Linked DNA regions of Homo sapiens: all the other regions are linked to region 1. Evidence: promoter capture Hi-C in 16 types of primary human blood cells and fetal thymus (Javierre and others, 2016). All regions are on one chromosome and are shown on one strand. Each heading gives the region's core, a stretch centred on a gene start or on the middle of the fragment in contact. The rest is flanking DNA. Distances are from core to core; before and after follow the strand shown. Region 1 holds the start of COP1 (COP1 E3 ubiquitin ligase). Region 2 holds the start of LOC127814295 (a long non-coding RNA gene). Region 3 overlaps ALDH9A1 (aldehyde dehydrogenase 9 family member A1). Region 4 holds the start of ALDH9A1 (aldehyde dehydrogenase 9 family member A1). Region 5 has its middle 75 kb from the start of PTGS2.

Region 1 (5,606 bases), core at 1,246-3,745:
GTAATTAAACTTTATACCATCAGTTCCTTAGTGTTTTTCTCAGAATATTCCCTTTCTTTGTCACCATCCTAATCTAGAATCTTATCATTTACGCTCGAACTGCTTTAATTTTTCCTAGTCTTTGTTCCTAATTTCCCACCTCTTCTGAAAGATTAATCTCCTAAAAAATTAATCTTTAAAACATTATAAATGTTTTTACCCTACTTAATGCCTAATTTCCGTGAAAGCTGTCGTAATCAAAATGGAATTATATGGGCTCGGTGGTACACACCTACAGTTCCAGCTACTTGGGAGGCTGAGGCAGCAGGATTGCTTGAGCCCAGGAATTTGGGGGCTGTACTGTGCTATAGACTTGCCTGTGAACAGTCACTGCATCCCAGCCCCATCTCTTAAACAAAAGGGGGTGGGGGGCCCCATCTCTTAAACAAAAGGGGGTGGGGGGCCCCATCTCTTAAACAAAAGGGGGTGGGGGGGCCCCATCTCTTAAACAAAAGGGGGTGGGGGGCCCCATCTCTTAAACAAAAGGGGGTGGGGGGCCCCATCTCTTAAACAAAAGGGGGTGGGAGGTAGTCACTAATATATTTTTTAAAACACTGAAAAATAGATTCAGAGGTCATGAAGAGAAGGGGTCTCATGCTTGCACACCTGATGACAAAAACTATCACAAAAACCTGCAAAAGCCACAATCTTTTTTTTTTTTTTGAGATGGAGTCTTGCTCTGTTGCCCAGGCTGGAGCACAGTGGCACGACCTTGGCTCACTCCAACCTCCGCTTTCTGGGTTCAAGCGATTCTCCTGCCTCACACTCTCGAGTAGTTGGGATTACAGGTGCATGCCACCACACCCGGTTAATTTTTGTATTTTTAGTAGGGACAGGGTTTCGTCATGTTGGCCAGGCTGGTCTCGAACTCCTGACCTCAGGTGATCCACTCGCCTTGGCCTCCCAAAGTGTTGGAATTATGGGCCTCAGCCACCGCACCTGGCCAAAAGCCACAATCTTACACAAAAAATACTTCCGCAAAAACATCTGCCCAGCAACTTCCTGTCCAGTTTCCGACTGGTGTCACCTTGTTATTGATCTTCGTAGCCAAGGATAACGGTTTAAAAACAATTATGTAATTCTCATTTTTTTTTAAATTTTAAAAACCTTTGCCTTCCTTTACCTCCTTGAATACGCACGTAGTTTACTAAGTCATGAGTATTTTCACACTTTATTCCCAAATAAATATATAAGAATCATAGAATGATAGAATTGAAAAGGATAAAATCACACAGTTGTTTCTAACTCCCACCCCTTAGAATGCGGCAAATGAAAAAAATTTTTTTTTTTGAGACAGGGTCTCTGTCTCACAGGCTGGAGTGTAGGGATCTCCGCTCCCTACAGCCTCAACCTCCCCAGCTCAAGCAATCCTCCCATGTCAGCCTCCCGAGTAGCTGGGACTACAGGCCTGCTGCCACCATGCCCAGCTAATTTTTTGTACTTTTTGTAGAGACGGGGTTTCGCTATCTTGCCCAGGCTGGTCTCTAACCTCAGGTTCAGCCTGATCCTCACCTCCAGGCTCAGGTGATCCGACCCCCTAGGCCTCCCAAGGTGCTGCGATGACAGGCATGAGCCACCGCGCCCGCCTATAATCAATTTTCAATATTCTAAAAAAGCCTACCAGAAATTGTATATTTTCTGGTGGTATTAAATGCTAGGTTTCCTTGTTTTGTGCTAGAATTATATCAGATCCACAATAAACCTAGGTTCCGACTGAGCTGGGTCTGATTGAGCAAAATCTGTTTTCCCATTATTGTTATGTTCAATTTGGCAAACAGCTTTTCAAAATATAGGAGTGAAGTCGTGGTCGAACTAATAAAATTGGTAACACTTGCTACAATGTTTGCAATTCGCAGAAAACTTCACTGACTTCATCTTAACTTATTCCTCACAAAGCTGTGGAATCACCATCAGTAGAGCAGGAGTCGTTGGCTCAATGCAGTGCTGTCTGCAACCGCTCGGAGCTTCTAGGTTCTTTCCGTGGGTCTCCAGCTTATGAGCACCTACATTCCGCGATTCGGAAGCACCTGCCTACCCCTCAGAAGAGAGAGACAGCTCCTTCTTCCCGTTCCGGAATGTGGTGCGTTCGCACGCATGCGTGACACGGCTACTCCGCGCTTGCGCCGATATTCTCCGCTTGGGGCGGATACCCTGGGTGACCCGTGAGCGTCCGCGCCCGGCGCGCGCCTGCGCAGTCGCTTTTCGAGAGTTTCCGCCCGCTACGTTCCCGTCTTTCAAACCACCCCACCACCTATACCATTCATTCCAGTCTCCTCAATTCTTTCACTGTATTAAGACGGCCTGCCCTCTGGCACGTTTTCTGGAACGAAAGCGGCTTGGGACAGACAGACTCCCTTCGCCAGGGAGCCCCGACCCCGAGGGCGCGCCCTGAGCGTCTGAGCGCAGCCCCGCTGCGTCCCCAGTTGTATCCCCCGCCACGCCCGCCTCTTCCGCCGCTCGCGCGCGCGCGCACGGCCGGCCACGGCGCGCCGGGGTTGGCTGCTACAGGGACCGCGGTGGCGGCGGCGGCCTCGACAGCGGTAGTGCCTTCTACTCCGCTTTTTTAGTTTCCTCCGCCCCCTCCCGTGGGACGCTGTTGTGTGGCTGCCTTAAAAAAAAACGCAACTTTATTGTTCCTCAGCCCCACCTCCGGCTCGGCGGGCGTCCTCAGGATGCACTGAGGCTGAGGGGAGGGGAGGCGGCGGAGGGTCGAGGTCGCGGTCCCTCTCCTCCGAGCGCCCGGCTGGAGGGGAGGGAGTCACGATGTCTGGTAGCCGCCAGGCCGGGTCGGGCTCCGCTGGGACAAGCCCCGGGTCCTCGGCGGCCTCCTCGGTGACTTCCGCCTCCTCGTCTTTATCCTCTTCCCCGTCGCCGCCTTCCGTGGCGGTTTCGGCGGCAGCGCTGGTGTCCGGCGGGGTGGCCCAGGCCGCCGGCTCGGGCGGCCTCGGGGGCCCGGTGCGGCCTGTGTTGGTGGCGCCCGCCGTATCGGGTAGCGGCGGCGGGGCGGTGTCCACGGGCCTGTCCCGGCACAGCTGCGCGGCCAGGCCCAGCGCCGGCGTAGGAGGCAGCAGCTCCAGCCTAGGCAGCGGCAGCAGGAAGCGACCTCTCCTCGCCCCCCTCTGCAACGGGCTCATCAACTCCTACGAGGACAAAAGCAACGACTTCGTATGGTGGGTTTGAAGAGCACTCCCTCCTTGTCCCTAAATTATGAGTTTCTGCCGCTTAGGCTTGGGGGCGGGGGGTCTGGTGTGGGGGTGGCTTGTTGGAGAGCTTGGGATACTGGTGCTGTGGTGGTGTCTGCAGAGGGAATCGAGCGTTTGCAGGCATTCGAGCTCCTGGTTGGTGGGGTGAAGGAATGTTGGAGTAGCGAGGCAGGGTGGGGATAATAAAGAGGTAGGTAAGTGTTGCTGAGGAGGAAGTGAAGGGAGTTTAACGAATGACGAGGGAAGAGGTGGAAGGTCAAATAAATGGTTTTGGATAACAAAGTTGGCAGAGAGGTTGAGTCTTAAAATTTTTGCCTCTCTGATGAATTGAACACTCAGTCAATCAGGAGTCCTTGTTGAGATGAATGAAATTTGCAAATGGAGAGGACTAAGCTTCCTCGGATGCAGAGGGGTGGAGTTGGTCAAAATTTATTTGAAGTATGGTAGATGATGCTGTAAACATAAGCATGGATGTCTTATAAAGACATGCTTTTTATAATAATGTAAGTACCTATCGTATGTATGTGTAAATATCTTCTTCCATTTCAAAGGATGGGCCACTTAGGAATCGGCTGTTGAGACGACTGTAGTCAAAGTCTGTTAACAGATTTTTCACTTCTCCACCAAGTGTCTTGAAAAGAGAGAACCACGTTTGTTAAATAACATCCCTGTGTCAGATGTAACTGTACTATACTGGATAACAGAGTATACTGGAACTTCTGACTTGAGAAATGCTAGGTATAGACATTTTGTCGTCATAGTTGGCATCTTGAATGATACAGAGTAACATTTAGTCATGACATTTGGGATAGAGAGGTTAGTCATATGAAGTGAAAGGTGGTGTTGATTGTCTTGCTTGAGAGTGTTTTGGAATTTTTATTGGATTTTAGATATTGGTAGGATTATGAGAAGTAATTGCTGTTAGCTAGCTGCTTAAGAAGTGGTAGTGTTTCGTACTTTCCTTTTTGAGGAAATTGTTGATCAAATATTAGGCATGTAGGAAGTTGGCTGCTTGCACAGTCATTATGAGGGAAGTTGATTCAGATCAGGGTTGAAGATGGTCTGAGTTGGTGTTATTAAATAAGATAGAGCTAGAAGTTGGAACTGTTAGGAAAGTTATTGATTAGACTTACGGTTTCTAGTTCCTGCAGAAAAATGATGTCTTTATTCACCTTTCTGCTTTTTTGTACGTTATTCTTTATCAGAATTAATCTGTTTTTCATTGAACATTTGGGCTGTAATATGATTGTTATTTATAAATAAGCAGTTTATGGTTGGGGCTGAGAAGTGTTTGCACTTCTACACAGTCGATAGTGCGAGTAGCTAATAAGCTAATAAAACAAAGTGGGGTGTGCATAATTTAGTTGTCTTTTTAGCCACTGTTTGCATTTTAATTTTTAGTATACTTAACGAACACAAACATGTTAGCCTCCGTGTAAGTACACTAAAATAAAGTAAAAGATGTGAGGAATAAGGAATCGATCATTGTCATTCAAGAGATACTTGTATGACATTCACTGTCGGCCAGGCACCATATGAAGTTCAGTGCACTGCAGGCTATGCTATAGGGAATTGGGAACTCTTTTTTTAAAAGAGTAAAAATTTGTATTTGAGACGGAGTCTTGCTCTGTCACTCAGGCTGGAGTGCAGTGGCACCGTCTTGGCTCACTGCCACCCCCGCCTCCCGGGTTCAAGCAATTCTCCAGCCTCAGCCTCCCGAGTAGTAGCTGGGATTACAGGCACCTGCCACCACACCTGCCTAATTTTTTGTATTTTTAATGGAGACGGGGTTTCACCATGTTGGCCAGGCAGGTCTTGAACTCCTGACCTCAGGTGATCTGCTCGCCTCGGCCTCCCAAGGTGCTGGGAGGGATTACAGGTGTGAGCCACCGTGGTCCTGAGTATTTCACTTTCTAAGAATCTCATTAGTTAATTATTTCTTTTTCTGGTGAGGTTTAATATTCAGAAGAATTAATTAATGAGAATCTGATTTAAAACTCAAGCCAGGTTTGATTTTGTCCAGACTCTTGGGGTAGGATGATATGGATTAGGCAAGGCCCAAGGAATCCTTTTTTTCTTTTTTTTTCCCCCCGTTTGGCTGTGGGTCTTGTCTTGTATGCCCCAAGGTCAAACTGTGAACCAATTCAAATTATTCTATGCTTTTATATTTAAACGAAGCCCAAGTTCAAATAATGATAATTTCTTATTCATTTATGGGACATTTTAAAGATATGCTTATGCTTCACGTTTTATTTTATCCTTAGAACAATTCTGTGATGTTATATATAACTTATTTTTAATACAATACTAATTATTTTCTCATTGAGGCACAGAGAAGTAATTTTGTTTGTCGTTGGACAGGTA
Region 2 (5,606 bases), core at 1,550-4,049, about 13 Mb after region 1:
TCATCTAAGTCACAGCCTTAAAAACTGTTCATAAAAGGACTGGACCAAAGAAAGACTTCAGAAAAAGTCACTTTTCCAAAAAAGCTGCATCTGAATTAGAGAGTATTGCAATAGAAAGCGTAGGTGTAAAGTATCTTCATAATTATTATCACTTGTTCCTCTCTTCTCTAATGTTTGGCACTCTGCTATCAGATTAATCCTTATAAAAACACTTAACGCATCATATAATATTTGTATGAAAATACTTCAATTACTCACCTTACCCACCACATCAAATTCAAATTTTTCTGCTAGGCTTCTAAACCCTTTAATAATTGAATGAAATTTCTGCTCCAAGTTAGTCTCCTAACTTTCCCAAACTTCCAGTATTTCCTTTTGGAACCTCCTCCAATATCCAAATTCTATCATTCTTTCGAAGTACAATTTCAGTTACAATTTATTCATTAACGAGAGATGAAGACACTTTCCAACTACATAGTTTGAGCTCCTAGGTGGGATAAAGTATATAAATGACTTAATATATATGCAGTAATACTCTGTCTAACGAGTAGCAAAGATTAACCTATAATTACTCATCTGGTTTCTCATTTATTTGCAGCACCACGATGCTGAGCAGAGTGAGTAGGTACTAAAAGTACTCTGTTAAATTTTACACACTTCGTTTTGTTAAAATAAACTATTTGTGGACATCACAGTTCCACGAGGCAGAGATTAAACAAAAATAAACAGAAATGGCTCCCAACTTCAATGAATTAAGTAAAACGTTCCTTGAACTTTTAAAAGGAACAATGATGGCGTTATGCATGCGTAGTGCTATATATGCGCTGCTCTTTTCCTTTGAATTTTGGATTAGGTGTGATATTTTTACCTTTTCATTCATGGTTTTGGATTTGGTTAAGAAACGTTTGGCAACGGAGATGTGTAAAAAGCTGACAAGCATCTGCAGCCAAATAAACCACATTACCACCGCCTTTCCAAAAATCACACATAAATGTATGCCTAACTTGAACAATTTCAGCTCAAGCTCGTCTTCTTCGGTCTATGCTGCACCAGAAAACACCCGTTAGTTTAGTAGGAACTGAGCTCTGGTTGTTTCTGGGACTAACATCAAATAAAAAGTAACGACGGGCCCGCCCCTCACCTCCCAGGCTCTGGTTTCTTCCGCCTCCTCCCACCGCTGAGCACGACGAAAACACCGCCAGGCCCAGCGTCCCGGCACCTGCCCGCGCCTTGGGATGGAGAAGGCGTCTGTCTGCAGGCTTCCTTCCTCCGTCCTCTCGCGCTCACCTACAGTGCCGGCCGCCGACAGGAAGACGGCGAGTTCGGGGAGCAGCTACAAGCAAAGTCAAAAATCAGCAAACGTCAACCGTCATCACTTTTCAAACTTGCCGCCTCCTACTGGAAGTCCCGCCCCATTCCGCCAAGCCCACGTCCAACCGCGACGGATGCCGGTTGGGCTCAAGAGACGCCAGGCAGGTGGGACTGGAGTTGTCATGGAAGGGGCAGGGCGCAGGGCGGAACCATTGCTCGCGGAGCTGGCGTCGAGTCGGAACCTCGGACTGCAGGAAGTGGGAGCACCGCGGTTTCGGGGAAGAGACCGGGGTTGAGCGTCTAGCCCATCTCTGCGTGACTTCCGCCAGCGTTTAGAGCGTTTTCGGGGTCCGAGTTGAAGAGCAAAACCAAGTGAAGGAAACTTCACTAAGTTCAGGGTGACAAGGGAGGAAGTACAGAGGTAATTTATAGAATTCCAGAGTAATAATAACTTGTTGAACATTGATTATGTGCCGGGTTTTGTTAGATGCTTATAAGCATCATCTCATTTAGACTTCATTAAAGGGGAGAAAAGGGATAGTGGAGAGATACTATCATCCCCTCAGGTGAGGGCTCTGAATCAGAGAATGCAGTTCTCTGCGCACAGTAGTTCACAAGTAGCATAGCTGGGATATGAACACACATCCTCTGACTCTGTGCTCATAAGCACGACTTCAAGAGGTGGAAGGAACATAACAGTTCATCTGGTCAAATCCTCTCGCTTTCACCGATATGAAAACTGGACTCAGAGAGAAGTGATTTGTTAGAAGTTATACAGTAAGTGGGACTGTAAAGTAGAAACCAGGTCTCCTGATTTTAGCTTCTCCCTCTTCGATCAGTGCTTTTCACCTCTGAACTGTTCCCCAAATTTGCACATTCCTGAGTGAGTTGCATTCTTCAGATAAGGGGCCCTGAAATCTGTATTTTTTTACATGGTATTTTGTTTGTTTGTTTTGGCAAGAGTGGAAACACTGCATTTAACACAAGTTAGGAAGCCATGGCAGGCCTGGTTGTCAGGGGAGAAAGCCATTAAGTTTTATTGAGGTTTGGGACAGGAGAAGACGTAATAGGACTTGTATCTGGTCACAGAGTAGAGCATCATCTGGTGACAGTCGTGTGTTGGATGGGGAACCTGAACTGAATTATGTGAAAAAAGTGCTAGAAAGGTTGTATTGAATGTAGACACAAATTCCGCTGCTTTGTCCTGTCCTGAAGAACTAAACCTATTGATAGTGAAGTCTATACCAATTCTAAATAAAAATACATTTCATATCATTAGTTCAGGGCTTTTGTCTTTCCTTTCAATGTCTATTTACTGATGTAAGTCTCAAAGTCGGAATCTAGTAAGACCCAAAAGGACATTAAGAAAATAGATTTTAAAAAAATATTAGAGTCAGTGAGGAAAGCAGAAAAAAGAGACCTGTCTCATTGACACTTGCCAAATCAAATTGATTACTGATACATGCATAATTTCCACCAAATTATATGTCCTTAGAGGCAGGGAAGGGAACCATAGCGTAGTGACTGAGAGCACATCTCTACGGTCAAAGGGAGTTGGATTGAAATCCCTGATCACACCATTTACTACCTAGGTGGACTTAGGCGAGCTATTTAACCTAACTGAGCTCGTTTCTGCATCTTTAAAATAGGGTGACAGTTCTATCTGCTTTATACGGTATCATGAAGATTAAGTGAATTAGTTCCTGTAGAGTGCTTAATTAAGTGCCTGGCAAAATTGTGAGTACTTGAAAAGTATTAGCTGTTATTTTGACTATTATTATTTATACATGGTCCCTAGGAAAATACCTTGCAAGTGGCAAGTGCTCAACAAATGTCTAAATTGTCGTTGAGAATCTAGAAAAAAAACCAAGCGATTTATGTGAAAGCCAAGATTAGAATGGACCATGGAGAAAGAGAAAAATGAGGCAAAGGAAGAAAAGAGCAAGACAACCATTTTGTTATATCAACAATAAATATTGTTTATTTGGGGGTTAATATTACTATTGATGTGATAAATTGAGTTATATTAGAAGTAAATTATTTATTTAAAAAATGAGTGTTTATTCAAATTACCTTAATTAGAAGGTTAAATCTGACTTTTTAAAACTTTTAGTTGCCTGATACTGGTCAGTGTAAGGTAGAAGGTGGAACATCAGAATTCTCAACCTAGACATTAGTCTAAGAGTTTTGTTATCACCCATAAAAACACAGACTATTGCAGAAAACTTTAGTATTCTTTCTGATTGTAGCATCATAATTTTGTACCCTCACATGTGCTACATTTGCCCTACTATTTCATTTTCCCTGACAGCCCTCCTGCTAATACCTCCCTTCACAGCCTAGACTGCATGGTTTATCAGCATCCAAACTTCCTGTGTCTGATGCCTCTGACCCAGGTGCCTGTCAAAATCTTATCCGTGCATCTTGTCTATAAATTCTTAGCTGGAAACACTGGAGAAAATGACACAAAGTGATATATGACAGATTGTCAGTCTCCATCTTCAGCTCTTTCCCTGATTCCTGACAATCCTTTAATTTATCATCAGTAATTTCCCTGTCCTGTAACTTTCAGTGATTTCTCACAAACTTTACCCTTTCTTCATTCCTCTTCCCAACCTAAATTCCTCTCTTTAATAGAAAGTGACCAGAGTGGTCTTAAAGGTGTGTTTCAAGCACATAACACATTCGTATGCATCTGCAATTTGTTGTGTCTATTGCCTTTCTAATTTTAATTTCATGTTCCTTTTCTAGACTGCACTTTAAATTCTGGATGACAGACCTATCAGGACTGAGTGGACCTTTGAGTGACAAGATGGGGGTGTTCCAAAGAGACCATGGCAGCCTGCAGCTAGGACTTTAATGCAAGTGGTGATGCTGTGATATCTAGTGCTTTAAACAAATCTCTTTTTTTAAGTGACAGGGTTTCCAAATTGTTATTTCTACTTTAACAGATCAATAGGGACAAAAAGTTGATTCACTTGGTCTAATGTGGTAGGAATAGGTGAAATACTAAGACTGGATCCTACACTCTACTTCCCATCAGGCACCCATTCTTATGAATAGAGATTCCATAGGGGCCACACACAATCCCAGTACTTTTTTCCCAGTTAATTGAGAAAATTAAAGCCATCATACAATATATAACTTCCTCCCTCTCCACTTCTGTCAATGCCACATATATCCACCTGTCTTATTTGTCTGTCTCAGAAAATGAAATGTACTTCCTCCACCAATGTATGACCACTGTTTCTTGTTCTAGACCTCTCTTTTGCATTTGGTATCATTGATTAAACCCTCCTTGAAACTCGTTTTGCATTTCTCCCATCTTTTTCTACCTGTCTCATGCTTCTTGGGGGTCTTTTTTTCTCTGCCTACCCATTAAATAGTATTTCCCAAAGTTCCAACCTTGAGTTGTTTTCTGTCTGTATCTTCCCTGTGAGCACTGTCCACTCATTGTTTTAACCTATTTGCTCATGGATTCTAAAACTACTGCTATTCCTGACCTGTTCCTTGAAGTTCCGACTTTCGGGAGGCTCACGAGCCCTTCAAACTCTAATTTGTCCTTTGCTTTCATTTGTACTCCCAATTCTATCTCATCTCACTGCTTTCAGCCATAACTACTACCACCCCCACCTACACCGCCAAATCCATCTTGTAAGTAGCAGCCAGAATGACCAGTCTCAAATGTAAATCTATTTCACTTGCCTCCTTAAATTTCTAATCTTCCTCTGCAGTCACCTTCAAGATAGTCCAACTCCATGGCCTGGTGTGCTAGGGTCTTCATTATCTTGCCACTGTTTTCCTTCCCAGTCTTGTTTCCCTTTCCAGTACCATCTCCCATCCTACCCACTTCGCATTCATGAGGCTGCTTTACACCTGAGACCTTTTGCATTCTTGTTGACTTTGTCTGGACTATCTTTATTTTCTTTGGCTGACTCTTCCTTATCCTTACTAATTTTTTAGGGCTCTTGCAAGAAGCCTTTCCTTGTTCCATAGTCTGAGTTAGTTGACTTTTCTCTCTGCTTTCTTGACATTTGTGGGTTCATTCAGAAAATATTCATTGAACCCTTATTTTGTGCCAGACACTGAGCTAGATACTAGAAATATAATAATGAACAAGCAAATATGGCAATAACCAATCTAATAATTTCCTGACAGAGTTTACATTCTCATAGGGAAAAAAGAAAAAAAAAAAGGCAGTTCAGTCTTATTGGCTCCATGCTTGATAATAGCTAGGAATTGAAAGGGTAAAAAACAAGTATTCTAGATAGAGGCTAACAATGTTTATGAAGAAG
Region 3 (5,606 bases), core at 1,401-3,900, about 11 Mb after region 1:
AATTACATCAAGACATATTGGAATATGTCTTAAATCTAGTCTTCTGCTTTACCCAAAGGAACGGGAGGATGAAATTGCTACTATGGAGTGCATCAACAATGGCAAGTCCATCTTTGAGGCCCGCTTGGACATTGACATTTCCTGGCAGTGCCTGGAGTATTATGCGGGCTTGGCTGCATCCATGGCTGGTAAGTCCTCACCTGGTGTCTGTGACCAGCTGATAATGAGGCAGAAGAGCAGGGCCTAGTGGTGAAGGGCAAAGATTTTGGAATTAAGACAAACCTGGGTGAAAGTCTTGGGTTTGTCACTTTCTACCTGGGTGGCCTGGGAATTACTTTATCTTTCCTAATCTAAACTGGAGATAATAATTCCTACCTTCTTGGGTTAAGGATTAAATGAGATAGTGCATGTAAAGCACCTAGCATGATACCTGAGCTTTAGACCAAATTGCTGAAAAACCAGTTTTCATAAGAATCGGTTTGTCATATTTACCAGTTTTATCTATTTAGCAAACTTTTTTTTGACAGTGTATAAAGTTTTCAACAATTGATATTGGAAGGTTGGTAGGGCCTAGGAAGGTTGCAAGGAACTTACATGCTTCCCCTGCTGTTGAGTGTTCCTCTCATTTCCATTTTGTTTCATCTAAGCTATCTAATAGAGGCTCAGTAAATTCTTAGAGAGTTGTAAAATCAAGTTAGATGAACATGTGTTTGAAGGATAGGCAGGGTTCTCTATGTGGAGAGAATACGTGGAAGCCAGTGGAAGACTGCCTGGAACAAATAGAAGAATGGAGACAGGGTGAGCCTGGTGTATTGGGAGAAGTGGGGAGGCTGCGTTGACTGGAGTACAAGTCAGACTGGTACAGATGTTGGTGAAATCTTGGGGAGCACAGACCTGCATCCTCCTTTACTCCTGTTTTCCCCATAGGTGAACACATCCAGCTCCCAGGTGGATCGTTTGGTTATACCAGAAGAGAACCACTTGGGGTATGTGTGGGAATAGGAGCATGGAACTACCCCTTTCAGATTGCCTCTTGGAAGTCGGCTCCAGCATTAGCCTGTGGTAAGAATGAATTATCCCTCCATTTGAGAGCCATTCGTTCATTCTCTCGTTCGTTCTCTCCCCATTCTCTACCTTTCACCTCTCTATAAACACACACTTTAAATCGGAAGGGGCCTGCTCTGGGATATTCAAAGCCTCAGAGGACATGGCTCGTTCCTGCCCTGTCTTGCCCCTCAAGGAGCTTATAGTTAAGGTTGTACACAATCATGTCTAGATATTCTCAGGTTTTATTTATTTAATTTTGTATATGAAAAGAAATTTAATTTTTTCTTATTAAATTGAATTAGATTTGTGCTACTTATAAGTTCTCTTCCTTTCTGGACAAGAATTTTAAGGTAGGAGTTAGCACTTAGGAGTTTGACTTCATTTACGAAGCAGAAGATAAACTCCTTTCTTCATTTGGGTCTTAAGAGAAATGATAAGCAAGGCTTTGATAAGCTTCTTATCAAAGAGGAGCTTTGGCTGATTGACATAAAATAGTTTTCTTACAGTATTTAAAGAGAAGAATCTTTGAGGAAAGAAGACTAATTTTATCTTAGAAAAAATTGTAATGTTAGAAAGCATTACTGTTAGGACATTATATTGAAATGCAGCTTTTGTCCTGTTGCCATTGCATGTTCTTGTTTTAGCCTATTTCTCTTTGAGATACAGCTGTGAAAGAGGAAAAATAGTCACTAGCTTTAATAGTCACCAGAATTAAGTCACTAGCTTTGGGGACTCTCATCAAGTGAACCATTCTGGTCTTCAATGTCAACTTTTATAAAATGGAGCTAATGATACCTACTTCATACTGCTGTTGAAAGTGTTAAATGAGATAATATATGTGAAAAGGCCTAGATATGCAAATGTGAGACTGGGCAACTGTAGGGTTTGGGATCTGTTTAATGAGAGAAACCAAGATGAAAAGGACAAGAGTTGTTTACTTATTGATATGGTTTGGCTGTGTCCCCACCCAAATCTCAACTTGAATTGTATCACCCAGAATTCCCATGTGTTGTGGGAGGGACCCAGGGGGAGGTAATTGAATCATGGGGGCTGGTCTTTCTCATGCTATTCTCCTGATAGTGAATAAGTCTCATGAGATCTGATGGGTTTATCAGGGGTTTCCGCTTTTGCTGCTGCTTCATTTTTCTCCTGCCGCCAATGTAAGAAGTGACTTTCACCTCCCGCCATGATTCTGAGGCCTCCCTAGCCATGTGGAACTGTAAATCCAATTAAGCCTCTTTCTGTTCCCAGTTTCGGGTATGTCTTTATCAGCAGCATGAAAACAAACTAATATGGTTATTAATAACATTTTTGATGTAGGATTTGGTTGGGGAAGAGGAAACAATTGGAATCATTTTTGAATTGTCCTCTAGTCCTGTTTTCAGGGGATCACTGGTCTTAGAAAGTCTTTTTATGTTTGTGTCTTGGGTTTATGCAGGTAATGCCATGGTCTTTAAACCTTCTCCCTTTACACCTGTTTCTGCATTGCTACTGGCTGAAATCTACAGTGAGGCTGGTGTACCTCCTGGGCTCTTCAATGTGGTGCAGGGAGGGGCTGCCACAGGCCAGTTTCTGTGTCAGCATCCCGATGTGGCCAAAGTCTCCTTCACTGGAAGTGTGCCCACTGGCATGAAGGTGAGGACAAAACCAGTATTGGTCAACACACATGGCATTTGGATGTGGCAAATCCGGTCCTACCCAGAGTATATTTTGGAGGCTTCTCTTTTGATTTTACCTAGCCTGAATTGGGAATGGGAAGGAGATTTTATTAGGCAGAGGTGTGAAATTTCCTGTAAAAGTATGAAGGGGGAAAGGGAGTACACATGGGGTGATTTGTGTTAGGCCAGGTAGGGGTGGAAATTAACAGCCCCAGCCTAAGGAGAGGATGTGTCTTAGTGGACAGGGGCCTGGGCTGCCACTTGTATTGTTTAGTGACTTAATTTCTTGTATAGAAGAAAGGATTTTTACTCAGGCTATTTCAGATCCATTATTTTGACATTAATTTGTGTTCTGAACTCTGTCAGCCTTAAACACAGTAACAATAACACAAAAGAATTTCTGGCTATGACAATCCTGTGAATTGACAATATTTTTTATTTTTATTTTTTTGAGACAGGGTCTCACCCTGTTGCCCAGGCTGGATTATAGTGGTGTAGTCACAGCTTACTGCAGCCTTCAACTCCTGGGCTCAGGCAGTCCTCCTGCTTCAGCCTCCTAAGAAGCTGAGACTACAGTCATGTGCCACTGTGCCTGGCTAAGTTTCTTATTTTTCTGTAGAGATAGGGTCTTGCTATGTTGCCCAGGCTGGGACAATATTTTTTAAATGAACTCCCTCTTCTAATGTCAGTGCAACTCTGTGGATTCTCTTCAGTTTTCTGGAATAGAATATTTTAATAGCCAAAAGGCAAAGGATATTGACAAGAATAAGGCTACAGGTCACAAACAGTTCAAGATGATTTTGTAGGTTCAGGGCCTAGTTGACTTAGCATGCAATATAATTTGTGTTAAAGTTCTGAATACCTTGTCCTTGTTCTGCAAGATCATGGAGATGTCAGCTAAAGGAATCAAACCTGTTACCTTGGAACTTGGAGGCAAATCTCCACTCATCATCTTCTCAGACTGTGATATGAACAATGCTGTAAAGGGGGCGCTGATGGCCAACTTCCTCACACAAGGCCAGGTATGTACCTGTCCCTGGAAGAGGTGTAAAAGGAATCTCTACCCCCTCATCCAACAGTGTGTTTTAAAGCTTTTTGTTTTACAATACTTTCAGACTTACAGAAAAGTTGCACAAATAGTACAAAGAATTCCCATGTACCTTTGAACCAGATTTCTCAAATATTAACATTTTAACAGATTCACTTTATCATCTTCTTTATCTGCCTGTACATACGTAGGCATATTAAGTTTTTCTGAACCTTGAGAGTAAATTGTAGACATAAGGCCCCTAACCTCTAAATATAAAGTTCCTAAAAACAAGTGCATTCTTTTACATAAGCACGGTACACTTAGTAAAATTAAAAAATTAACATTGATATAGTACTGTTACTGAATCTATAGCCCTTACTCAATCTATAGCCCTTATTCAAATTTTGCCACTTGTTTGACTAATGTCCTCATAGTAAAATAGAACAAAAATGGTTTTTTTTCCGGTCTAGGATCCAGTCAAGGATGATGCATTGCCTTTAGTTGTCTTGTCTTTAATCTCCTTTAGCTGAGAACAGTTCTTCAGTTATTCTTGTCTTTCAGGACGTTGACATTTTGGGAGAACAGGCCATTCATTTTGTAGAATGTTCCTTAGTTTGGGTCTGTCTGATGTTTTCTGTTAGATTCATATTATGAATTTTTGGCAAAAATACCACAAACATGATGTCATATCCTACTCAGTGGTGATTTAACTTTGATCACTTGCTTTAAGGTAAGTCCTCACTGTAAAGTTACTGTTTTTTACTTTGTGGTTAATAAGATCTTGTAGGAGGTATTTTGAGACTATCCTGTTCCTCATCAAACTTTCATGCAGTAAATACTTCTATCACCACTGACGATTCTTGCTGAAAACAATTTTTATTATGGGGTTGCAAATGGTGATTTTCCAATTCCATCATTTCTTCTATATTTGTTCACCTTCTACTGTAAGAAAGAACTTGCCCTTCACCCCTGTTTGTTTTCCATTCATTTATTTATATCAGTATGGACCCATGGATTCTTATTTCATTCTATGTGTTATAATCCAATACTATCATTATTTATTTATTTTTTATTTTTATTTATTTACTTACTTATTTTTTGAGACGGAGTCTAGCTCTGTCCCCCAGACGGTAGTGCAGTGGCACGATCTCGGCTCACTGCATCCTCTGCCTCCCAGGTTTAAGCGATTCCCCCGCCTCAGCCTCCTGAGTAGCTGGGATTACAGGTGCCCGCCACCATGCCCAGCTAATTTTTGTATTTTTAGTAGAGACAGAGTTTCACTGTGTTGGCCAGGCTGGTCTCAAACTCCTGACTTCACAATCCACCCACGTTGGCCTCCCAAAGTGCTGGGATTACAAGTGTGAGCCACTGTACCCGGCCTTTATTTTATTTTTTTATTGAGACGGAGTCTCACTCTGTCACCCAGGCTGGAGTGCAGTGGCACGATCTCAGCTCACTGCAACCTCCACCACCTGGGTTCGGGTTCAAGTGATTCTCCTGTTTCAGCCTCCCAAATAGCTGGGACTACAGGTGTGTGCCACCACGGCTGGCTAATTTTTTTTTTTTTTTTTTTTTTGAGACAGAGTCTTGCTCTGTCGCCCAGGCTGGAGTACAGTGGTGCGATCTCGGCTCACTGCAAGCTCTGTCTCCTGGGTTCATGCCATTCTTCTGCCTCAGCCTCCCAAGTAGCTGAGACTACAGGCACCCGCCACCACGCCTGGCTAATTTTTTGTGTTTTTAGTAGAGATGAGGTTTTACCATGTTAGCCAGGATGGTCTGGATCTCCTGACCTCATGATACACCTGCCTTGGCCTCCCAAAGTGCTGGGATTACAGGCATGAGCCATTGTACCCAGCCTCATTATTTATTTT
Region 4 (5,606 bases), core at 995-3,494, about 11 Mb after region 1:
TCTTTACATGTACCCCTGAACCTAAAAGTTAAAAATAATAATTTAATAATAAAAGCACAGATAGGTAAGAGGAACAGCTAGATATTTAAAAGGTAGATATTTTGGAGGAGATCTGTTTTCTTTGGGGAAGGGTCTTACTCTGTTGCCCAGGCTGGAGCAGTGGTGCCATGATCGCTCACTCCAGTCTTGAACTCCTGGCCTCAAGCAATCCTCCACCTCAGTCTCTTGAGTAGTCAGGACTACACGCTTGTGCCACCATGCTCGGCTAATTTTTAAAAATATTTTGTAGAGACAGAGTCTCACTATGTTGCCCAGGCTGGTCTTGAACTCCTGGCCTCAAGCGATCCTCCTGCCACGGTCTCCCAAAGTGTTGAGATTACAGGTGTGAGTCCTGTGCCTGGCCAGAGGTTTGTCAGTCTTATCATCTATGAATTAATTCAATAGACATCACGACCACATTTCCAAAACAAACATCAGGAATTATGATGTGACAAGTCAAAATGCATTGGTTGGGGACAGAATCTTTTAAATAGAAATTGTCCCATAAAATTTGAGACGTATAGTTTCTGTACCTAAATGACCATTCAGTGATCTTGGAAATCTATAGTGCTGCTCGTCACCAACTCCTGATATGTTTCAATTCTGTTTGCAATGGACAATAATAAAATAATATGTGAGTGTGGCCTCAGGTATTCTGAGTTTGGGCACTGCTGTTTCCATCTGAGGACCAAGACCTACACATCTCAGTAGCACTGAAAAAGTGAACAAACTGGTATAGAGTGCCAGAAAACTTGATCAGAATACATTATATATACTCTAAACCTGAAAACCACACTCCCTAATATTGCGCTGGTGAGCTGGCAGGTAAAGGAAAAAACATTGAGAAAGACAGCAGCCCCCAGAAGAGAAACAATCCTAAAAGAAATGTCCAAATTGCCAATTACTTTCTGTTTGTCAAAGTCTCTACTGGAGGTGCATGGAAGTTTGGTGAGAAGAATGAACCTTTGTGCAAGATCCCTCAGCTGACAGACCTGTGAGTGCCTCTGGGTGGCTGCTTTGTCTTACAGAAGGCATTTTGTTTCCTGACACTTTTTCCTGTGGCCTTTGCTCTTCGTATTCTGTATGTTAGGCTTCTGTTTCTATCAATATTTGTCATTAATAGCATTTACATTGCTCCTTCAGAATTTATTTATTTTGAGACAGGGTCTCGCTCTGTTGCCCAGGCCTGAGTGCAGTGGCACGATTATAGCTCACTGCAAGCTTGGACCCCCGGGGCTCAGGGGATCCTCCCACCTTAGCCGCCCAAGTACCTGGGGCCACAGGCGTGTGCCACCACACCTGGATAATTTTTTTTTTTTCTGAGTTTCACTCTTGTCACCCAGACTGGAGTGCAATGGCATAGTCTCGGCTCACTGCAACCCGTCTCCCGGGTTCAAGCGATTTTCCCACCTCAGCCTCCCAAGTAGCTGGGATTACAGGCGCCCGCCACCACACCCAGCTAATTTTTGTATTTTTAGTAGAGACGGGGTTTTACCATTTTGGTCAGGCTGGTCTCGAACTCCTGACCTCAGGTGATCTGCCCGCCTTGGCCTCCCAAAGTGCTAGGATTACAGGCGTGAGCCACCGCGCCCGGCCCAATTTTTATTATTTTTATTTTATTTTTTTATAGACACGGGATCTCTCTCTGTTGCCCGCAAACTCCTGGGCTCAAGCGATCCTCCAGCCTTGGTGAGAGCCACAGCGCCCAGTCTCTCTTTAAGAATTTAAAAAGCAGTTTCAGATCACAATATCATCTATCTCGTTCACAGTCCCCTTGCTTTTTACTGTCACCCTTTAAAAAGCATTATACAATTACAGAAACGGTGGTTTAGCAGTGAAGTAACCACCAAAGACTCTTGGCACTCCAATCCTCTGCCTTCTTCAGGCGATAGGATTAAGAATGGGATCCTAGGATGCTTACATGCAATGATGAACCCGAAAACACTTGCAAAGTGCTACGCAAATATTGATCACGAAGAAGGAAGTCCTCTTCCCGCCTGGAGACTGTGTGGGGTATGGCGGGGTGGTGGGGAGAATGTGGTGTCTTGCTCCACCCTCCTGGCGAGGGGAGGGCCTGGCCTGGACCGCAGAGGAATCGAGTGACTGCCCCTAAAATCTCCTAGAACCGATCCCGCGGCCCCGCCCCTCCCGCGGCCCCGCCCCTCCCGCGGCCCGTCAGCCTCTGCCGCGGAGCTGCGTCCGCCACTCATGTTTCTCCGAGCAGGCCTGGCCGCGCTCTCCCCGCTTCTTCGCAGTCTTCGGCCCTCTCCTGTCGCCGCCATGAGCACTGGCACCTTCGTCGTGTCGCAGCCGCTCAATTACCGCGGCGGGGCCCGCGTGGAGCCGGCGGACGCCTCCGGTACCGAGAAAGCTTTCGAGCCAGCAACCGGTAACTGCAACGAGCCGGGGAGGCTGGGGCGCCCTGGGGCCGGATGCGCGGATTTCCCGGCCAGCCCCCGTTTCCTGTGTTCTGCAGCGTTGACTTGAGCACAAGACAGTGACAGTGGAGAGTCTAAGGTTGTGTGTGTAGGCAACTAGCGATTCTGGGGCAACGCGAGTGCCTCCGGGCAGGGATGGGTAGGGAGGAAAAGCAAAGCTGATGAGTTGCGTGGTAGGATCGTGAGTTGTTTTACCCGGGCCAGAACAGAGTTCGCAAAGTACTGGTGGGGGAAGTCGTGCCTCTGTTAACTTCCTTTTTTGTTTGTTTTGTTTGTTTGTTTGTTTTTTGTTTGTTTTGAGACAGGGTCTCACTCTGTCGCCCAGGCTGGAGTGCAGGGGCACCATCTCAGAGCTCACTGCGCCCTCTACCTTACGGGCTCAAGTGCTTCTCCCGCCTCAGCCTCCCTGGTAGCTGGGATTACAGGCTCCCACCACCATGTCCGGCTAATTTTTGTATTTTTAGTAGAGACGGGTTTTCAGCATGTTACTCAGGCTGGTCTCGAACTCCTGAGCTTAGGTGATCCTCCCGCCTCAGCCTCCCAAAGTGCTGGGATTACAGCCGTGAGCCACCAAGCCCAGCCAACTGTTCCCCCTTTTAAAACCAGGACTGATGTATTATTGTCTTCAAATGTGTGCATAGGAGAGGAATTCTAAAAGAACGGGGCGGGGTTGTGGGGAAGATAATCATTTGTGCTGGGAATGAAGGAACGCTCACAGATAGTTTCTAATGACTACGAATGAGGACTTTGTCTCCACATTCTAATATTAAAATATTTCTGCACATTAATCAGAATTGGGAAAGGAAAAAACCCCACCTTTATTCAGTACTTTCTTCCCCAGCTTTATTGAAGTATAATTAACAAATAAAAATTGTATATACTTAAGGTGTAAAACGTGTTGTAATGTATGTATACCTTGCAAAATGGTTACCACGGTCAATCTAATTATCCATTGCTTCTGCATAGTTAATGGCTTTTTTTGGATAGTGAAATATTTAAGATCTATTCTTTTAGCAAATTTCAAGTATATGATGCAGTATTGGTAACCATAGTCACCATGGTCTACGTGAGCTCTCCACAATTTATTCATCTTGCTGAAATAAAACTTTTTAATCCAGTGCTTAATGTGTGCTAAGCACTGTGCTAGGCACTGGATTTACTCTGGGAACTCTGAAGGTCACAGAGATAAGGAAGAAGGGGCTTTTTGTTTTGGTTTTGTGTTGTGTTTATTTTGCTGGGTTTTATGGAATATATGTGGGGAGAAAAATGTAAATATTTTGTGTAAAATGTAGCCAGAGCAATAAAACTGATTTGCAGGGGACTGGAGAATTTAGTATTTGACCATCCACACTAAACCACAGAGCAGTGACTTGGCAGAGCCAGAAGGCATTATCACATCTCTTCTTTATATAGGAGGAAACAGCTTCTCTACCCCGACTTAATCCTGATACAAAAGAAAGAAAAATTGCTCTTTGCTTTAATTGCCTACAGTGTGTGTGATCCTCAGCCACCGCCTTTACCAGCTGGCTATTCAAGTTTGTAACAGAAATTGCAGATTTGTGAAATCTCCCTGGAAAGAGTCCCAGGAGTTCTTGTGAAGAGGATTTGCTGAGTTGGCAAACTTAAAGAATTCTTGTTGGTAGAGGCAGTACAGTCCTTGGGCTATGGGCCTAGAAAAACTGATTGTTTCATAATTTGCACCAGAATAGGGAGAGGGAATAAAGGTGGAATAAGAAAAGGAAATCTGGGAATTTTTGAGAAAAAAAAAATGTTCCTTTAGGGTTGCCTTATCCTGATATTACTGCTTATTAACTATATTTATCAAGTATCAAGTAGTATGATATAACCTACATAGAATATAGACAAGGGATTTACAGTCAGAGTTTATAACCCAATAGACTGATTACTTTTGACTTTCATTTTACAAGACCCCTGAGATTCTGAGATAATGTTTAGGAGTGTTGCAAAACTTAATCAGAAGTTAATGTTAGTAAACTCAACTGTAAAATAGTAGAGGGCAGGGGTTCTTAACTCTAAATCCTTGATGAGTTTAGGGCAGGGGACATGACATTCCTGTAATTCTGTTATATGTTTAAGTAGATTTTTCTGGAGAGAGGTCTGCAACTTTTATCAGACTCCTAATGTCAATGACCGCAAAATACAGTTAAGAACTGCTAGGCCGGGTGTGGTGGCTCATGGCTGTAATCCCAGCACTTGGGGAGGCAGAGGTGGGTGAATCACTTGAGGTCAGGAATGTAAGACCAGCCTGGCCAACATGATGAAATCCCGTCTCTACTAAAAATACAAAAATTAGCTGTGTGTGGTGGCAGGCGCCTGTAATCCCAGCTACTCGGGAGGCTGAGGCAGGAGAATTGCTGGAACCCAGGAGGCAAAAGTTGCAGTGAGTCAAGATCGTGCCATTGCACTCCAGCCTGGGTAACAAGAGCGAGACTCCGTCTTAAAAAACAAAAAAACAAAACAAAAAAACCTGCTAGTATAGAGATGGTCACTAAATCAAACCATACATAAAAACAAGAAGTTACGGTAGCCCACGCCTGTAATTCCGGCACTTCGGGAGGCTGAGGCGGGTGGGTCACAAGGTCAGGAGATCAAGACCATCCTGGTCAACATGGTGAAACCCGGTCTCTACTAAAAAATACAAAAAATTAGCTGGGCGTAGTGGCGTGCACTGGTAGTCCCAGCTACTCAGGAGGCTGAGGCAGGGGAATCGCTTGAACTCAGGAGGCAGAGGTTGCAGTGAGCCGAGATCGCGCCACTGCACTCCAGCCTGGGTGACAGAGCAAGACTCCATCTCAAGAAAAAAAAAAAAAAAAAAAAAAAGACTACTACTAAGAGAATATTGATAGATAATATTTTATTTAAATATGTGGCAACAATTTGAGTTAAAACTGATGTTTCCGCTCTTTATAGGCCGAGTGATAGCTACTTTCACATGTTCAGGAGAAAAGGAAGTAAATTTGGCTGTTCAAAATGCAAAGGCTGCTTTTAAAATATGGAGTCAAAAATCTGGCATGGAGCGTTGCCGAATCCTTTTGGAGGCTGCCAGGATAATAAGGGTATGTTCCAATTTATTTCCTTCCAGAACTCAGACATTGCTCTGAGGTTTCT
Region 5 (5,606 bases), core at 1,147-3,646, about 10 Mb before region 1:
TTGTCACAAGTTCCCCCAGATTCTAAATGGTTTACAGTTGTAAACTGTAACATGTTCAGCCTTTCTTTAACATTCCAGATGACTCTGACAGTCAATCCTGTTTGCTTTCACCTGGAATAATCAACAGTATTGGAGGGTCATGTCTCAGGGGTTCATTGAAACCCCCTTCTATTTCTCTTAAGTACTCTGTCGAGACTTGAGCATCCTCCAGTCTCCTAGAGGGTTGACTCCTTCAATACACCAATGACATCTCACTTTGTTCACTTACTAAGGAGGCATCCCAGCAGGATTCCTTCTATTTATTATAGCAGTTAGCAGAAAAGGGACTTAAGGTCTCCAGAGACAAATTACAAGTATCAATAGATGCTGTTCACTATTTAGGACATGATCTGAGTGCCGCAGGCATCCAGATCTGGTGTCTGCTAGTTAAGCTTTCCCAGGAATTTCCTAGGTTGGTAACTAAGAAGAAACTTTCCAGGTTCTTAGGTTTAATTAGATGTTGTCATCAAGGGGTCTCTAGTTTTCCCCTCTTAGGGTCTTTACTGTATGAACTCACTAAACACTTAGTCCCTGAACCCCTTTCTTGGGAAGAAAAACATGAACCAGGACGTTGTAAAATTAAAACAGGCATTATAAAAACTCCCTGCTTTGGGATTGCCCAGTTACTAAAAACATTTCACCCTATTTGTACCTGAAAGAAATAATCAGGCCTTGAGAATCCTTGCACAAGAACATGATAATAAGCTTAGCCCATTGCCTCTTGTAGTGCTTGATTAGACTATTGCCAAAGCGTCTGTGGATCTAACCTCAGGTAATAATGCTTATCTCCACATATCACACAAGGTGAAAAGTCTTCTCAACTCTAACCTTACCCAATATCTTTCTTTTCTTTTTTTTTTTTAATTTGTGGTTAAAAAATAGACATATAATTTTGTATCTTAACCATTTTAAAGTGTACATTTCAATAGTGTTAAGGGTATTCATGTTGTGAAACACATCTCAATAACTTTTGTTTTTATCTTGGTTTCCTTATATTTGTTCTTTCGACAAATATTATTGAGCAGTTAGAATATACAGGCGCTGTTCAAGCACTGAGGATAAAGCATTAAACAACTCAGAATGAGATATAAGATTAGACCTGTTTATTTCACAAATCTGTTTTTTGAGGTTAAATTGAAACAATGCATGTAAAATTTATGAAGTATATCAGTAGTTCTCAAAATTTGGTCTAAGGGCTTTTTTACACTCTTAAAAATTATTGAATACATTTTAAAATGCTTTTGCTTATGTGGGATGCACTCACACAAACTTGTGTATATATATTTACTATACTAGAAATTAAAATGAAATATTTAAAATATATTTTCTAATTCATTTAAAATAAAAATAATACATTTATTGCATGTTTGTATAAATAACATATTTTTAAAATACTATATTTTATTAAAAGCATTTACCTAAACAAAAAATGTTTAGTAAGGCTGGATGTGGTGGTTCATGCCTATAATCCCAGCACTTTGGGAGGTCAAGGTGGGAGGATTGCTTGAGGCCAGAAGTGCTAGGCTAGACCATAGTAAGGAAAGAGAAAAAGAAAAGAAAGAGGGAAAGAGAGAGGGAGGGAGGAAGGAAGGAAGGAAGGAGAGAAAAAGAGAGAGAAAGAAAAAGAAAGAAAGAAAGTAAGCTTAGTGAGAGGAGAGGCATTGTGATGCATTTTGTAAATCTCATTAATGTCTGGCTTAATAAATGACAGTTGTATTCTCAAGAGTGATGTCGTCAAAATGGGAGAATAGAAATAATCTAGCTTCAGTGTTCCCCACAGAAAACCAAAAACAACTATCCAGTACCTAGATTATCATCACCAGTAACCAAGAACTGGGCCTTTTGATGATTTTTGAGACCACAGAAAAGTGAAAAACTACAAGCAGAAAGTAAGAGAAATGAACTTCAGTTTCTTTGATATGCCTCCCCTACCTAAGTTGCCAGGCACTACATGGAAAAGTCCCCCTAGACTTAGGGTTTCACCAATGGAAAAAGTGAGATCAAGGCAGGCAAGACAGCAGGCTTCCCCACCATCTTGGGTTTCTTAGCAGGACTGCCATTTCTGCCTCAACTCAAGAAGCATCACAAGTGCCTGTAGAGAGAAATATCCTAAAGGCGGCTAGACTGAAAAAAAAAAAAAAAGAGAGAGAGAGAGAGAGAGTGGAGAAGGGATAGCAATCCCAGGGTGCAAAATGTAGGGCTGCTCTTCAGCTCAGCAAAAAGAGACACCAAACCAGAAGAGCAGTTCAGCAGCACCGGGCTCTAGGAGGCATTCTTCATGGGTCCTCAGGACACAAAACTCTACCCAGCCTCCACACACAACCAAGGAATCTCCTTTGGGACTCCTCCTGCCACACAGCCCCCCATCTGACACAGGCAGTTCTCCAAACTTTTTTGAGAGCTGTGGCAAACTTGGACTTAGGGCACCATCTAGTGCCAAAAAGGAGGCAGCAGTCCGGGGCTAAGGGAACTCAACATGCAAACCACACAGAACCTCTAAACATGCATAGCCTAGAAAGACCAAAGCAATCCAGACAGTGAAGACTGGAATCAATAGCTAAACCTTTAGTGCAAAGACAGAAATGTAAATCCGTAAGAAACAACAGCAAACAGGAAACCATGACCTCCCCAAATGGACAAAGCAAAGATCCGGTGATAGGCAATGGAGCAATGGTGTGGGCTCTCAAATCAGGAATTCAATATGGTAATTTTGAGGAAACTCCGTGAACTCCAAGATAACAGAGAAAAACAATTCAGAAATTTATCATAGAAATTTAACAAAGAGATTAGAATAATTTTTAATAAGAACAGAAATCCTAGAACTCAGAAATACTTTGGCTGAACTGAAAAATTCATTGGAAGGTCTCAGCAGCAGAATTTATCAAGTGGAAGAAAGGTTCAGTGAGCTTGAAGATAGGGTATTTAAAAACACACAGGGAAGAAAAAAGAAAAAATAATTTTTAAAAAATGAAATATGCCTACGAGGTCTAGAAAACAGCTTCAAAAGAGCAAACCTAAGGGTCATTGGCATTTAAGAGGGAATTGAGAAGGAGGCAAAAGGTAGAAAGCTTATTCAAAGAGATAATACAGTAACACTTTCCAAACCTAGAGAAAAATATAAATATGCAAGTACAGAAAAGTCAAGGATTGTCAAGGATTATAAAGGATTATAAAATAGATTCAACCCAAATAAGACTACACCAAGGCATATAATAAACAAACACTCAAAGGTCAAGGTCAAAGAGAGAATTCTAAAATCAGCAATAAAAAAGAAGCAACATCATATGAAAAAGCTCAAGTTCATTGGGCAACAGACTTCTCAGCAGAAATCATACCCAGGAAGGAGTGAGATAATATATTCAAAGTGCTTAATGAAGAAAACTGCCAAATGATAATACTGTATCTAGCAAGCTAGCCTTCAAACATGAAAAATAGATAAAGACTTTCTGAGATAAATAATAGTTGAGGATATGACTTACCACCAGACCAGTCTTACAAGAAATACTGAAGGGAGTTCTTCAGTCTGAAAGGAAGCTAACATGCAACAGGAAAACATCAGAAGATATAAAATTCACTGGTAAAAGTTAGTATAGAGACAAATTCAGAATATTCTAATACTGTAATTGTGGTGTGTTAATCACTCATATCTTTAGTATGAAGACTAACAGACAAAGCTATCAAAACAATAATAACAACAAAATTTTGTTAAGAAAGATGCAGTTATGAAAAGATGTAAACCGAGAGAATAAAAAGCCAAAATATGGGGAGGTGGAGTTAAAGTGCAAAGTTTTTAAGTTTTTCTTTGTGTTTGCTTCTTTTCTTTACTTTATGATCAAAGTGAAGTAGTTATCTGCTGATAAAAAACTTGTTATAACTATAAGATGATTTTATAGGCCTCGTGGTAACCATAAAGCAACAATTTATAATAAATATCCTAAAAATAAAAATAAGCAATTAAAACATACTACCAGAGAAAATCACTTAACCACAAAGGAAAACAGTGAGAGTGGAAGAAGGGAAAAGTTACAAAACAAAGAGAAAACAAGTAACAAAATGGCAGTAGTAAGTCCTTATTATCAATAATAACATTGAATATAAATGCAATAAATTCTCCAATTAAAAGACATAGACTGGTTAAGTGGATTAGGAAACAATACCCAACTATATACTTTCTATGAGAAGCTCACCTCATATATACACACACACATAGACTGGAAGTAAAGGGATGAAAAAAGATTTTCTGTGCAAAAATGGAAGCCAAAAAAGAAAAAAGCAGAGCTACCTATACTTAGATAAAATAGGTTTTAAGGCAAAACCTGTAAAAAAAGACAAAGAAGTTCATTACATAAACAGTAGTAAATATATATGCAACCAATATCAGACCACCCAAATATGTAAAGTAATTATTAATAGATCTAAGGAGAGAAATAGACTATAATACAATAATAGTAGGGGACTTTAACAACCCACTTTCAATGATGAACAGATTATCCAAACAGAAAATCAATGCACATGTACCCTAAAACTTAAAGTGTAATAATAATAAAATAAAATTTAAAAAAAAGAAATTTGAGTTAAACTACACTCTACACCTAATGGACCTAAGTAATATTTTAAGAACATTTTCTCCTTCTGATACAGAATATGCATTCTTCTCAACTGCATGTGGAACATTATTCAGGATAGATCATATGTTAGACCACAAAACAAGTCTCAGTAAATTCAAAAAAGTCAAAATTATATCAAGTATCTTTTCTGGCCACAATGAGATAAAACCAGAAATCCATAACAAGAACTTTTGAAACCTAACAAATATATAGAAATTAAACCATATGCTCCTGAATGACCAATGGGTCAATGAAGAAATTCAGAAGAAATTTTTGAAAATTTCTTCAAACAAATGAAAATGGAGTCACCTCATATCAAAACCTATAAGACACAGCAAAGGCAGTACTAAGAGGGAAGTTTATAAAAATAAATGTCCATGTCAAAAAAGTAGAAAGGATTTAAATAAACAAGAAAATGATGTATCTCAAGAAACTAGAAAAGCAAGAACAAACCAAACCCAAAATTAGTAAAATGAAAGAAATAACTATTGTTATTGTTACCTATATATCAAACCTTCACATGTACCCCTGACTCTAAAATAAAAGTTAAAAAAATTAAATTTGACTTCACCACTTAAAAAATAATAATAAAACAATAAAAGTACAAACAAGTGCAAAGAAATAAAGGGTGGAAAATTACAAGGTCTAGGAAGGGAAACGAATATCCAGATTTATGAAGTCTTCTAATAGATTGACTCTAAAGTGGCCTATACTAAGAAACATTATAATTAAATTATACAAAGTCAGAGACAAAGAGAATGTTGAAAACAGCAGAGAAAAGTAACTCATCACATATAAGTGAACCCCCACAAAACTATCAGCAGAAACCTTGCAAGTCAGTAGAGAGTTTGATGATATATTCAAAATACTAAGAAAAAACTGCCAACCATGATTACTCGACCTAGAAAAGATGTCCTTTAAGAATGAAATAGAGACAAAGACTCCTAGAAAAAAAAATTA

Evidence for each region. Contacts are between HindIII fragments. The CHiCAGO score rates a contact against its expected background, and 5 or more counts as called.
Region 2: a fragment that was not itself captured here is called in contact with the fragment with the promoter of COP1 in region 1 in 2 of 17 cell types (non-activated CD4 T cells and naive CD8 T cells); the score reaches 8.9 in non-activated CD4 T cells.
Region 3: a fragment that was not itself captured here is called in contact with the fragment with the promoter of COP1 in region 1 in 1 of 17 cell types (non-activated CD4 T cells); the score reaches 6.0 in non-activated CD4 T cells.
Region 4: the fragment with the promoter of ALDH9A1 here is called in contact with the fragment with the promoter of COP1 in region 1 in 1 of 17 cell types (naive CD8 T cells); the score reaches 6.3 in naive CD8 T cells.
Region 5: a fragment that was not itself captured here is called in contact with the fragment with the promoter of COP1 in region 1 in 1 of 17 cell types (neutrophils); the score reaches 5.2 in neutrophils.

The regions. Positions count from the first base shown.
Region 1 is chr1:176,204,175-176,209,780 of GRCh38, reverse strand. COP1 (COP1 E3 ubiquitin ligase) reads left to right here and starts at 2,495. Exons shown (of 20, transcript NM_022457.7): 1 at 2,495-3,209. The coding sequence starts at 2,803. COP1-DT (COP1 divergent transcript) reads right to left here and starts at 2,116. Exons shown (of 5, transcript NR_185981.1): 1 at 1,910-2,116. RefSeq lists an enhancer at 1,888-1,957 and silencers at 2,458-2,667, 2,698-3,057. The HindIII fragment of the contact is 7,879 bases long and covers 1-3,637 here.
Region 2 is chr1:163,317,748-163,323,353 of GRCh38, reverse strand. It overlaps LOC127814295 (a long non-coding RNA gene), which reads left to right and starts at 1,619. Exons shown (of 5, transcript NR_182654.1): 1 at 1,619-1,732; 2 at 4,063-4,172. It overlaps NUF2 (NUF2 component of NDC80 kinetochore complex), which reads right to left and starts at 1,400. Exons shown (of 14, transcript NM_145697.3): 1 at 1,142-1,400. It also overlaps a transcript of RGS5 not described here. RefSeq lists enhancers at 1,181-1,410, 1,451-1,660. The HindIII fragment of the contact is 6,415 bases long and covers 1-5,606 here.
Region 3 is chr1:165,677,563-165,683,168 of GRCh38, reverse strand. ALDH9A1 (aldehyde dehydrogenase 9 family member A1) reads left to right here. Exons shown (of 11, transcript NM_000696.4): 3 at 59-188; 4 at 928-1,062; 5 at 2,486-2,682; 6 at 3,587-3,727. Among named protein-coding and RNA genes, the nearest start is that of ALDH9A1, 18 kb to the left of the region's middle. The HindIII fragment of the contact is 2,296 bases long and covers 1,503-3,798 here.
Region 4 is chr1:165,695,200-165,700,805 of GRCh38, reverse strand. It overlaps ALDH9A1 (aldehyde dehydrogenase 9 family member A1), which reads left to right and starts at 2,244. Exons shown (of 11, transcript NM_000696.4): 1 at 2,244-2,428; 2 at 5,409-5,554. The coding sequence starts at 2,248. It also overlaps the pseudogene CA14P1. RefSeq lists enhancers at 1,809-1,988, 1,853-2,435, 2,279-2,508 and a silencer at 2,059-2,248. The HindIII fragment of the contact is 1,150 bases long and covers 1,263-2,412 here.
Region 5 is chr1:186,602,802-186,608,407 of GRCh38, reverse strand. No RefSeq gene overlaps it. Among named protein-coding and RNA genes, the nearest start is that of PTGS2, 75 kb to the left of the region's middle. The HindIII fragment of the contact is 1,426 bases long and covers 1,684-3,109 here.